Regions from separate parts of the Homo sapiens genome. Here region 1 is linked to region 2. Evidence: promoter capture Hi-C in 16 types of primary human blood cells and fetal thymus (Javierre and others, 2016). All regions are on one chromosome and are shown on one strand. Each heading gives the region's core, a stretch centred on a gene start or on the middle of the fragment in contact. The rest is flanking DNA. Distances are from core to core; before and after follow the strand shown.

Region 1 (6,132 bases), core at 57-2,556, 110 kb after region 2:
GGCTGTTGAGCTGAACAGGAGGTGGAATATGATGAATGTCATAAAATAGGCACCAACAAAACGCTCAGGGGGTATTCTCGGGGGAATTCAGAGCAAGTTTTGGGGATGAGTGGGAAGAAGCTTGGAGGGGATCCTGAGGGGCTGGGAGAGAGGATGAGACTCTTTCTTTTATTTTTGAGACAGAGTTTCACTCTGCCTCCCAGGCTGGAGTACAGTGGCACAATCTCGACTCACCGCAACCTCCGCCTCCCCAGTTCAAGCGATTCTCGTGCCTCAGCCTCCTGAGTATTACAGATGGGACTACAGGCATGCGCCACCATGTCCAGCTAATTTTTGTATTTTTAGTAGAGATGGGGTTTCACCATGTTGGCCAGGCTGGTTTCAAACTCCTGACCTCAAGCGACCCACCCGCCTTTTTCGGCCTCTCAAAGTGCTGGGATTACAAGCAGGAGCCACTGTGCCTGCTCCAGAGACTCTTTCTTACCCTGCGTGAGCTCTGCTAGACTGGAACTCAATGGCTGGGGACCTGAGACTCAAACCATTATAGGCAGAAAGAGTCTTTAAAGTCTTTGCATTTTAGCTTTATAGGTAAAGGCACCCTTACCCTCTCTTTCCCCAACAGCTTAAAGAAAAAATAAGTCAACGTTTCTCTTTGGAGTCATATAAATCCTTTCTCTCTATGTATGGAACTAAATGGCTCCCTGAGAGGCAAATACCCACTTCATCATGGACAAATTCAACCTGAAATTAAGAAGCCTGCCAGGAAATGGCCTAAAGTTATCCAGAGCTTCACTTAGCCTTGTAACCCTGACCTATGTCCATGTCCCTATGTTATCACAGATGTCTTTATTTCCTCACAGATTTTGCCTTACTGATACCTCAATTCAAATTGTCAAGGTAATTAAAAATATGTTATATAATATACATACTTGAAGTGCATATACAAGTTTAAAATAGCTTTGTTACAAACAGACATTTTCTTTCAATAAAACTTATTTTGTTCATCCAAACACACTTTGGGCACCAACTTATACCAAACATTAATAGGGCACAAATGCCAGGAGTCACTGGAATGAAGCATGGTGTACCAGTTTTCTGGAAAACAAGCAGAAACTGTGCCTCCTCCCTGCTGGAGGTGTTTCCTTTTTAGAAACAAGTCTTTGAGACTTGAAACCTATTCTATAAATCAAGTAATCAATATAAGCTTTATGGCAAACTCCCTTAAATTCCATGACAAGGAACTCTGAGGCATGGTCTCAATGCTTTTCTTGATTGATATTGTCTGAAATAAGGTTCAGTAAACCTTCGGCCTTGAAAATATTTTAACCTGAGGCATGTGGCCTGTATTTGCCTTTCCTCTGGTGCTTCCAGCACTTGGTGGGCTGTGTTCCCTCGTTCTTCAAGCTTGCCCATGGATTATATAAACGACTTCAGAGCAAGACCCAGAGAAGTTTGATGACCCTTTCTAAGCCAGGCAGTGAGTTGGGATGCCTGAGCCTGGCCTCCAACATCACAAGTTTATCAGGTGGTCATTCATACCATCTTGGGCTGCGACGGACCTAAGATGGCCTATTTTGTGCCAAGGCTCTTGTTTTTCAGATAAGGAAACCAAGGCCCAGAGTGGCTTTTCTTGATCATCCAAAGCTATGGAATCACAGATTCTTAGAGTTAGAAGGTACATTAAGCCTTTAGTTATCCAGTTTCACCTCATACCCAAAGGAGAAACACTTTCCACACACTCTCTGCCAGGTGATCATCCAGCCTCTCCTTGCACGCTTCTTGCACTGGGGAGTACATAATTTTTTTCTGACTTTTCTGTTTACGGACATGTCTAATTGTTGTCAAGTTCTTCTCTATAATCAGAGGAAACCCACTTTCCTGTTGCGTCCACTGACAGCTGCATTCCAGAGATTCCAGAACAAAACCTGGTGTCTTCTGGGTTCCAGAAGGGTTGCTCTTCCCCTGGCATCCCTTAGCCTGACTGAACCATTATGTTTCCTGGAGAGTTAGGGCCAGATTGACTTTCAGTAGCATGGCTTAGCTAGCTATGTTTATTTATTTTGCTTTCATTTATTAATGATAACCATCACCTTCTATAAGTCCCACCCATTTCCCTTCCTTTTCTGACGTGCAGAAAGCTCTTATTAGAACATCAATGAGTTCATTGCACTCTTTAAAATCAAGGTTCAGAAAAAAGCTGGAGTGTGCTTCTCTTGACAAGGCTGCTTGAGTATAATCATAGCTCTGTCACAAAATATGCAGGCTTATAAGGGGTTGTCAAATTTTTTCCTGAAGTGGGAGATGTTTGGGAAAAATTTTTTTGAAAGTTAACTGAAAAGGAACAAAGAGAAAAAATCAAGGACTAAATGATTTTATGCAAGTTTTGCATAGCTACAATTTGCAAACTTTGCTTTGATTAATGAGAATGCAGAGGACTCCTGAAAAAGAGAAAAATGAAGTTTTGAGCTGCACACGTAGTCATGAGTCTTGACCTTTCCATATGATGAGGTTTCTATTATCTTAACCTGGTGAGGAAGCAGATAATATGAATGAACTGGAAGTATTATTTTTCAGCCATCCAGATTCGAACTTCTTTTTCTGAAAGGAAAGATATCCAAGGTGGTCATTTAATAAACATGCAGGTTTCTTTAAGCAATGTTCTGCTCAAATGATTCCAGTTATTACATTACATTCCACTTCATGACTTTGGAGGACTTCTGGATTCTTAAGCATTAAACTTTTTGAAAAAAGTTTCTTTTAAAGCTATTTGGATTTGTATCTCAACATAAAGGAGGAAAATTCAGGTCTTTTTGAGTTCTGCAGACGGAATCAGTGAAAGGTGTCCTGGTTTTCTTCATTTCTCAGGCAAGGCTCTTGGATTTCCTGTGGACAGCTGCTTGTACCTCCGAATCCTAAATGGATTCCTCTCTGGCCTAAGCATCCGGTTGCTTCAAGGGCCCTCACAGACACAGCTCCACATCACATAGCCTTTGGAGGAGCAATTTTAAGGAGGACACGCTCTAAGTAAGCCTGGCACTGAATGGTTTTTCTATGGCTCTCAGATTGTGACAGGGACAGTCCTGGAGTCCCTAGGGCATTACTATGTCCGTGGGGCATTAATGCATCATTCCCTTTCTTTTGAAGTGGAATCTCCCATGCATGCACTCCAGTGATTATTAAGCCTCCTGTGGCCGCTCAGCTTAAGATTTCAGATCTCTCCCTGGCTTAAAATGCACTTTTCATTTTTTCGCCAGCCCTCTTCTCTCACCCCTCTTTGCCCTGAATTAGAAGCATATCAGCCGACAGAGTCACAGAACCTTAAACTGCCCACATGGCAAATTTCTATCTTCTAGTTCTCCAGTTAACTTCTTCTTCCCCTTTCTTTTTCGCCAAACACCAAGGCTAAATGAGATCGCTGCCTGGGAAGAGCATGAAAACCAGCTTACCCTTTCCTCCAAATGAGAATGCAATCCCACCCTTTAAATTTCCCAGCAATTGTAATGAGGATTATGAACAAGCACTGCAGACATCAATTTTCAAATGAAATGTAAGAAGAACCCTTTTAAGTTCCTAATCCTAATTGTAGACTAAGGCAGTATTATTGGAGTTGGTTTTAAAAACCAGGTTGATGATGCCTCAAAATTAAGTTATATTGTACCAGCACATGCAAAAGAAAGGGACATCAAAGAGGGAGTCAATTTGGATGGCAAACAGAAATAAATGCTGGGCTGAGACATTGAAGACATCTGGCCTTTTTGGAGCCCAATGTTTATTTCTTAGGTGGGGACAGTTAGAGACTTTCATGAGAGCTGGCTGTGGCTTTGTTATGACCTCCTCTCACTACTGTGAGTTTAGTTCTGTGGCTGTCTCATTTCCAGGACTGAAATGATGTATTGCTTGTTTAATTTGTTATTCTCTGTAACTTTTTTTGCATTTTAATAAACAAAAGTAGTCTTTTAGGGAAGAAGTCAAGGTTGATCTAAATGCATACAGTCAGAATTAGACTAATTTTTTTTGTACGTAAGTCTATGCACTCTTCACTTGGATGAAATCCCTAAAGAATAACATTTGGTGAAAATGAAATGGCAGAACAATAAAGTAACATTTTATGTATTCAAAAATATTTACATCAAGAGGATTTCTTTATAGCTTAAATTTAATAGAATTTTTAGCAAATTAAGCAGAATTTAGGAAGTGTAGTTTCAGCAGTGGTAAGAATCAAATAGCTTTCCTAGATTATAAAAACTTTGACTATAAGTTTTATCCAAAGATTCATGTTTTCAATTTTAAGCAATAAAAGAGATCTTTGGGGCCAGGTGTGGTGGCTCATGCCTGTAATCTCAGCACTTTATGGGGCCAAGGCGGGCAGATCACGAGGTCAGGCGTTCGAGACCAGCCTGGCCAACATGGTGAAACCCCGTCTCTACTAAAGATACAAAAAATTAGCCGGGTGAGGTGGCGCGGGCCTGTAATCCCAGTTACTCGGGAAGCTGAGGCAAGAGAATCGCTTGAACTCGGGAGGTGGAGGTTGCAGTGAGCCAAGATTGCGCCATTGCACTCCAGCCTGAGCAACAGGGTGAGACTCTGTCTCAAAAAAAAAAAAAAAAAGAGAGATCTTAGACATTTTAAAAGTCTAGTTTCTTCATCATGTAAAACTAAAGCCATAATTTTACACTTAGATAGTTCTTCATAACAATTGAGCCACAGAATTAGACTATTTTAAAGGAAATGCAGTTTCATTACTTTCAACCTCGAGCAATAGAAAATTGCTCAGAAGAGGGAGTCTTTTCGGGATTTGCTCAAATGGAGATATGACATTTGTAATTAACATGTCATTTGTTTTACAGACTTTGAAGTGTTTTGAATTTATTCTCATATGTAATTTTAACACTGCCTCCTGTGATCTTTTTATACTTTATCTCTATCCAAAATATGTCAGATCCTAAATTGATAACACTTGAATAAAAAGGGTTTTGTTGCCCACGATGAAGCAGTGTCAGTGGCTCTAGTGTTGGGCAGATCTGGGTTTGAGTCCCGGCTTGGCAGCACTGGCTGGGTGACTTTGGGTGTGCCGTTTACCCTCTCCTGGGTTCCGTTTCCTCAATGGTAAATGGGAATAATGACAGTCCTCACTTCCTGGTGATGTTGTGAAGATAAGATGACCTAATGCACATTGCCACTTACAACAGGCCTGGGAACGTAATGTAAAGAACAAGAGCTCTTACCCTGAGATTTCTGGGAAAATCCCTGATTCATCAGGCAAACACCTGAATCTGAAAAGTCTCTATGCGTTGTAGCACCCTTCCTAGGAGGACACCAGAGGGCAAGGGCACCTCCTGCTGTGCCCAGGTTTAAACTATGGGTAAATAACAGATTTAATCTCATGAGAAGCAAGCTCATTTTGTTACGGGTATGGAAACATTTTATCAATCTTCAGACAAAGTAAACAGTAGATGAAAGGATGCCATTTTTTCTGATGTGTAGGGTGAGAAAATTGCAGTGTGAGTTTCTGAGCAGTCTCAGAGGCCCCTATGTTACAATAAATAAGACTATACTGGTGTTCACCACGAAGGAAGAGCCCTGGACTGGGCTTTCTCTACACCTGGGTTCTAAACTCAGTTCTGCTGCTGTCTTAGTCCGTTCAGGCAGCTGTAATGAAATATCTCACACTGGGTAATTTATAAACAACCGAAGCTTATTGTTTACAGTTCTGGAGGTGGGGAAGTCACCAGAAGATTTGGTGTTTGGTGAGAACCTGTTCATCATAGATGATGCCTTCTTGGAGCCTCCTCACATGGCAGAAGGGGCTAGGGAGTTCCCTCAAGCCTCTTTTATAAGGGCACTAATTCCATTCGTGAGGGTGGAGCCCTCATGACTTAATCACTTCCTCAAGCCCCAACTCTTAACACTATTGCATTGGGGATTTAGGTTTCAACATATGAAATTTGATGGGACACACATATTCAGACCATAGCAGCCACTAACAATAGGGCAGTGGATAAATACCAAGATCTATGGGTCTGACTCCCCAGAGAATATGATGGTTCCACTAGTCAGTCCCCATGGTCCCTTGGGCTTCTGAGTCCACAAAACAGCTCTCACAGGTGTAACTTCCCATTCTGGGGATGAATA
Region 2 (6,142 bases), core at 1,737-4,236:
GTTGCACCAGAGTATAAATACTTGGTAAAACACACAAGAGGAAGTAGAATTTACACACAAGTGCTAACTTTCACCAGCAAATTCACGTGGGCACTTGGACATAAAAAAAAATAAAAAATCCTTAAGATAATTATATTTATAATATGGATACAGTTACAGTACCATGATAAAGGAGTATAAAAAGGTATTTTCCCAATGAATCATTAGCTCAATAACATACTAGACAACAGAAGTAGAGTTTGAATTTTATTTAAGATCTGCCCAGCCCCTCTCCCTTTAAAAAATATTTAATTTCTTTTTGTGCAAGTAACATCTTCTGTGGATTTTGTAATTCCTAACACTGTGCAAAAATGGCATTTTGAACCACTCCTTTTTTTTGTTTTTGTTTTTATCCACATGTGCAGTAATCTGAACTGTTTCTCTCTCTCGCTCTCTTTTAATGTCCTGTCTTCAATTGACAGAGTCACATGTCACAGAGAGAGGCTCTGCGCCTGGTCCTTCCAACTAATATTGATACATAAATAAGCTGTTTAATATAAACAAGTCTTTCTATCTGCTGTGCAAATGCACAGTGTGAGGTAGAAATCCCTCAGCCTGACCACCCAGGCGCGCGGGGGACAGCGGGTTTGCCCTACACAAGGAAAGCAAGGTGGGGCTTGTTCCAAGAAGAGCTTAACATTTCTTGAAACGTGATTTTTTTTTATTTTGCCTCCATCCTTTCTCTTTGCTTTCATAACAGCAGAAATCATTACTTAGAAATTAAAATGAAATTTCTCTGGAAAGCAAAAGGAAATATGTCTTGACAAACTGTCATTCTCCTCTCTCTGGCTGGTAGTGTGTTCCTGTTCCCGGGAAAGGGATGGGAGCCACGATGATCGATTTTAATCCCCTCCTAATGCTTCTCCCTTCCCCTAACCCACCCATCTTCCACTCCGGTCCTCTCAGAGAGTGTCAAAAACCACCTGGTGGGGGAAAAAAATCTAAAGATGCATCACACGCACACACAAAAGAAGGCCGGACCACAAACAGAAAAAAAAAAAAAAAAAAAAAAGAAGAAGAAAGAAAAGAAAAGAAAAAAAAAACAACAAGGAACATCAGCAAGCCACTCTCCCATCCCTTCCCAAACTTTCCTTTTTGTGCAACGGTCCGTGGCTTTTCTCTTTGCCTCGGATGATTCAGACGAGGATTGTGGGCTTCGAGTTCACCTGCTATCGGTCTTAAGTAAACACAGATCTCCTCGTTCCCCTGGGAAGCCGTGCCCGGAGTCCGCGCCCCGCGCCGGGCCCTACACCTTGGATTCCGAGGCGAAGCCGGGGCGGCACGGCTCGTCCAGGCTCGAGTCGCTGTCCGCCGCCGCCCCGCCGTTGCAGCCGGCCCAGGGCTCCAGCAGGCGCGCGGGCGGCGTGGCCCCGACGACATCGTCGTCGTCGTCGTCCGAGGCGGCCCCGGGCGATGGCGGGGGTCCGGGCCGGGCCAGACAGCCCGAGGCGCGCGGCCGGTCTCCGTGGGTCGCGTGGCGCCGGCGGGCAGCCCTGCGCGCGCAGCAGAGCAGTCCCTGGAAGGCCTTGCGGAAGTCGGGGCTGCGGCAGTAGATGATGGGGTTGAAGGCCGAGTTGGCGTAGCCCAGCCAGTTGAAGAAGACGAAGAGGCGGTCGGGCACCAGCTCGCGGTGGAAGGCCTTCACCACGTTGGCCAGGAAGAAGGGCAGCCAGCAGAGCGTGAAGACGCCCATGATGATGCCCAGCGTCTTGAGCGCCTTCTGCTCGCGCAGGGCCACGAGGCGCGAGGGCCGCCGCTTACCCGCACGCCCGTTGGCCAGCGGGGCGGTGGCGGCGGCGGCGGCGGGGCGCGGGGGTCCGGGCGGCGGCGCGGGCGCGGGGACGGGCGAGGGCGAGGGCGAGGGCGGCCGCGCTGGGCCGCCGAGGAAACGGCGCTCGCAGCTGTCGATCTTCTTCACCTGCTTCTGGGCCTCGCGGAACACCCGCAGGTACACGAAGGCCATGATGCACAGGGGCACGTAGAAGGAGACTACGGACGAGGCGATGGCGTAGGCCCGGTTGGTGACGAAGTCGCAGCACTTGGGGTCGTTGTAGCAGCGGCGCGCCTCGTCGCTCTCCGCCCGCCACCAGTGCATGAGGATGGGCAGGAAGGACACCAGGGCCGAGATGGCCCACACGGTGCACACGAGGCCCCGCGCCCGCGCGCGCGTCAGCAGGCTCTGGTAGCGGAAGGGCGAGGTGATGGCGAGGTAGCGGTCCAGGGCAATGACACACAGGGTCTCGATGCTGGCCGTCACGCACAGCACGTCCACTGAGGTCCACAGCTCGCAGAAGAAGGAGCCGTACTCCCAGCGGCCCCACACCACGATGGTGGCCCCGAACGGCACCACCAGCAGCCCCATGACCAGGTCGGCGCTGGCCAGGGACATGATGAAGAGGTTGGTGAGCGTCTGCAGCCGCGGCGTCTTGGCGATGGCCACGATCACCAGCACATTGCCCGCCACGATGAGCAGCACGATGAGCGCCATCAGCAGACCCATGCCCGCTGTCCACTGCTGAGACAGCGGCTCGGGGCTTTCGCTGGCGGGAGGCAGCAACGAGGCGGGCGGCGACGCGGGCACCAGCAGCCGCGCCGCGGTGGCCGCGCCGTCGGGGAGCGGTGCGGCCGACGACAGGTTACCGGGCTCGGAGGCGCCCAGGACGAGCACCCCCGCGCCCATGCCGAGCTGCGGAGGCCGGGGGCGGGGGGTGTGGCAGGGCTGGGCCGTGGTTGGGGAACACCCCAGAAGCCCGGGCGGCGTGGTGCGCAGAGGGAGGTCGCGGCCGGGTCAGGGCAGCCGCGGCGCGGGGCCGGAGGCATGGGCGCCGGGCGCCTTTCCCGCAGGAGCCGAGCGCTGTCGCTGCCGCTGCCGCCGCCGCCGCCGCCGCCGCTGCTGCTGGAGCCGCTGCCGCTGCTGGAAGAGCCGCCGGGACTTCAGCATGTTTCTGAGCGCGCCGGGCCCGCAGCTCCGGCACCCAGCACCCACCCCACCCCGCTCCCACTCCCCAAGCCAACCCCCGGGGCCTCGCGTCAGGCTCCTGCAGCCAATCCGGGCAAAGGCACGCCCCCGTCTGGTCTGCACCCCCACCTCCAACTCCCCGCACCCCCCTCCCGTTGGCAATTGAGCGGCTCCTGAGAGTCCCGAGCTGATCGCGTAGCTAGTGCCTCCCGTGCGCCCGCGGGTTCCTGCGGACGCACCCCTTCCTGCGCCCGCTGGTTCCTGGTCCCTGTTCCCCCGCGCCCCCTTCCGCGCCTGGCTCCCCCCGGGGCCCCGTCCCCTCCCTCAGCCCCCACTCGCTCCCGCACCCACTCCTGCGCCCCGTTTGCCTCCCGCACCCGCTCCTGCGCCCCGTTTGCCTCCCGCACCCGCTCCTGCGCCCCGTTTGCCTCCAGCACTCGGCTCCCTCCTGCGCCCCCGCTCCCCCCGCATCCCCTCGACCTGCAGTTCCGGGGTTCTCTGCGGAACAGAGCGCTAGCTCCCTTGAGCGGGGAGGGGACCTTGGTGTTCAGGAAGCGCCAGAGCGCCTGGGACAGCTTGTCCGCCAGGCTTGGAGGAGTTTGCCCTGCGAGCTTGGTTGTGATGTGGGGCAGCCTAGCAGGGTGTGTGTAAAACCCTTCCCCCGTCAAGACGGGACCCAGCCAGCATGCGTCGTGACAGCTTGGGGGATTGGAGGTGGGTGTTAGTGGTTAGAAGAAACTTCCCAGCAGAGCGGGTTGCTGGAGCCAAGCGCGCATCTGTCAAGAATGCTCTCTGGGCGCTGTTCTTGCAAGGATCCTCTGTTGAACCTCGAGTGCAGTAGATGTGGAAAGGAAGCGAAGGTTTGTGCATCTAACAGCTAACGCTGAGGGCCCTTTGGAATCGTACACACTCCTCAGTCCTAGCTAATGAACGTGTGAGCATGATGCAAAAATGTATGCTCATGATATGAAAGGAGAGGCTTAGGGAGACAGAAACGTTGAGATACAGAGTAAACGATACCACCGCGAGGGGGAAAAAACGCGTTTAATTACATTTTAGACTTTTCAATGATAACACCTGTATTTTGTGTTTTATTACTCATGTGATTTTATAATTTGAGCTGGGTCAATACAAACAAAAAGGTACTGTCAGTTTATGCTGACGTAATGAACTGCGATTTCAGATTCCTTGGTCTGCGTGCTTGTTTTCTCCTTTGCCCAAGTTCCCAGATTCTCAAAACTCTGAGATTAGTTTTGAAGGGATGAGACAAGAAAACATATAAATACTCCAGAGGATTAAAATCCAAAAGCATTTAAAGTTGTATCTGTGGTTTTTTTTTTTTTTTTTTTTGAGTTGGCAAATGAATTGCTTTGAAATTAGTGAGTTGTTAACCTGGCAAAAAGGATTATACTGGGGGTGAGGGGACAAGAAAGCCATGAATATGCAATATGGCAGGACTGCAAGCCCCTTCTCTAATTTGGCTCCTGTAGTGTCCTCAGCTCAGGCCTGAAATAAAAAAAAAAATAAAAAAATTAAAAAAATCTCTAATTGAGTCCTTGAGGAGTAAACAGCTTCTAATTGTTTATGTAAGGGTGCATGAAAATGTTATATAATGCTCACAGGTCCTTCTAGCATTGGAATAAGAACAGCGCCCGTAACGAACATCATGTTCGTTGATGGTCATCAATATGACCAAGCTCATATCCTTACCTTGCAAGGAGAGACCGACTTCCACAGCTGTCCAGGTCAAAAGCAAAAAGTAATGTTTTTCAAGTTTATATAAAATCAAGCAGTTTTAACCACTTTCTCTTACATAAATGCAAACATATGAATTTGCTTTAGGCCCAAACCTCAGCATCAGTATGTTAAAACTGGGGAGTGATTTGTTTATTCACCCCCTGCCCATGATTTATCAGCTGATTTTCCAACTTGGGGAGGTTGAGGAGGAGTGGCCAGGAAACAAGAGGCGTTAGAAAGGGGAGGAAGGAGACTACACCCCAAGTTATCCAAGTCACTGAAAGCCTGAGACTCCTGGCTTCTTTCTTTTTATTTTTTTGAGACAGAGTTTCACTTTTGTTGCCCAGGCTGGAGTTCAGTGGCGTGATCTTGGCCCACTGCAACCTCTGCCTCCCGGGTTCAAGTGATTCTCCTGCCTCAGCCTGTCAAGTAGCTGGGATTACAGGCGTGTGCCGCCACACACGGCTAATTTTGTATTTTTAGTGGAGATGGCGTTTTACCATGTTGGTCAGGCTGGTCTCGAACTCCTGACCTCAGGTGATCCACCCACCTTGGCCTCCCAAAGTGCTGGGATTAGAGGCATGAGCCACTGTCCCCGGCCTCCTGGCTTCCTTCTGGACCCACAAGGGGCAGTCTCAAAATAGCCAAGGGATTGGAAGAAGTTGAAATTGACGCTGCCCAGGAAAGGAGTTCTGAGTGCTGAGCTGCAGGGTGAGGCATAGGGAATGTGGGGAAGAGGCTTTTCCTTGCCATCTTTCTGTCAAGTGGTGTTACCGGAATAGAGTGTGTCAACCTTAAATGCCCCCGAAGGGTGGAAGGCATTGCTTTTCTGTGTGCGATAAGGCCAGAACTTGGTCGTAGAGGTTCAGGGCAGAAGCCAGATTGCCAGTAACTTTGCCGTATCATCATTATATATATAAACACATCGTGACATTGGAATTGTTGGAAAACTTTCCTGAAACTTTTTTTCTCTGCTCATTCAGAGATACATCAAGTTTCTCCGAATTTCTGTATAATACATTAAATTATAAACCCTCGAAACCAGAAGGTTATTCTAGCAGGAGTACCAGTACAGGGATCTCAGGAATTCTGGGGGATTTCCTTCAATTTTACTGACAGAAGAGTTTGGAATAGTACATGTTCAACTAGAGTTGGTTGTCTAATAAAAATAAAATGTTCTCAGAACTCCTTTAATTCCTACATTTTATGATTGGTGTTTTTTTTTTTTAACTTTTTTTTTAGCCTAACACTTTTTATTCTTAGGTAAGGATACAAGATCAAGAAGAAAAGGTTCAACGTATCAACTTTTACAGGTATCGGATATTGTAAGTTAAATAAAACTCCTTCATTTCTTCATTCTTCACTTGGCAACTGTTAAAGAGAGTCAGTTCTAAAAACCCATATATT

Evidence for each region. The method cuts DNA at HindIII sites, captures the fragments that hold promoters and counts their contacts. A CHiCAGO score of 5 or more calls a contact.
Region 1: a contact is called between a fragment that was not itself captured here and the fragment with the promoter of ADRB1 in region 2, in 2 of 17 cell types (monocytes and M1 macrophages). The highest score is 5.3, in monocytes.

What each region holds. Positions count from the first base shown.
Region 1 is chr10:113,926,707-113,932,838 of GRCh38, reverse strand. No RefSeq gene overlaps it. Among named protein-coding and RNA genes, the nearest start is that of NHLRC2, 75 kb to the right of the region's middle. The HindIII fragment of the contact is 200 bases long and covers 1,207-1,406 here.
Region 2 is chr10:114,040,710-114,046,851 of GRCh38, reverse strand. It overlaps ADRB1 (adrenoceptor beta 1), which reads right to left and starts at 2,986. Exons shown (of 1, transcript NM_000684.3): 1 at 1-2,986. The coding sequence starts at 2,719. The coding sequence ends at 1,286. RefSeq lists silencers at 2,889-2,948, 3,019-3,298 and an enhancer at 3,569-3,618. The HindIII fragment of the contact is 8,909 bases long and covers 1-6,142 here.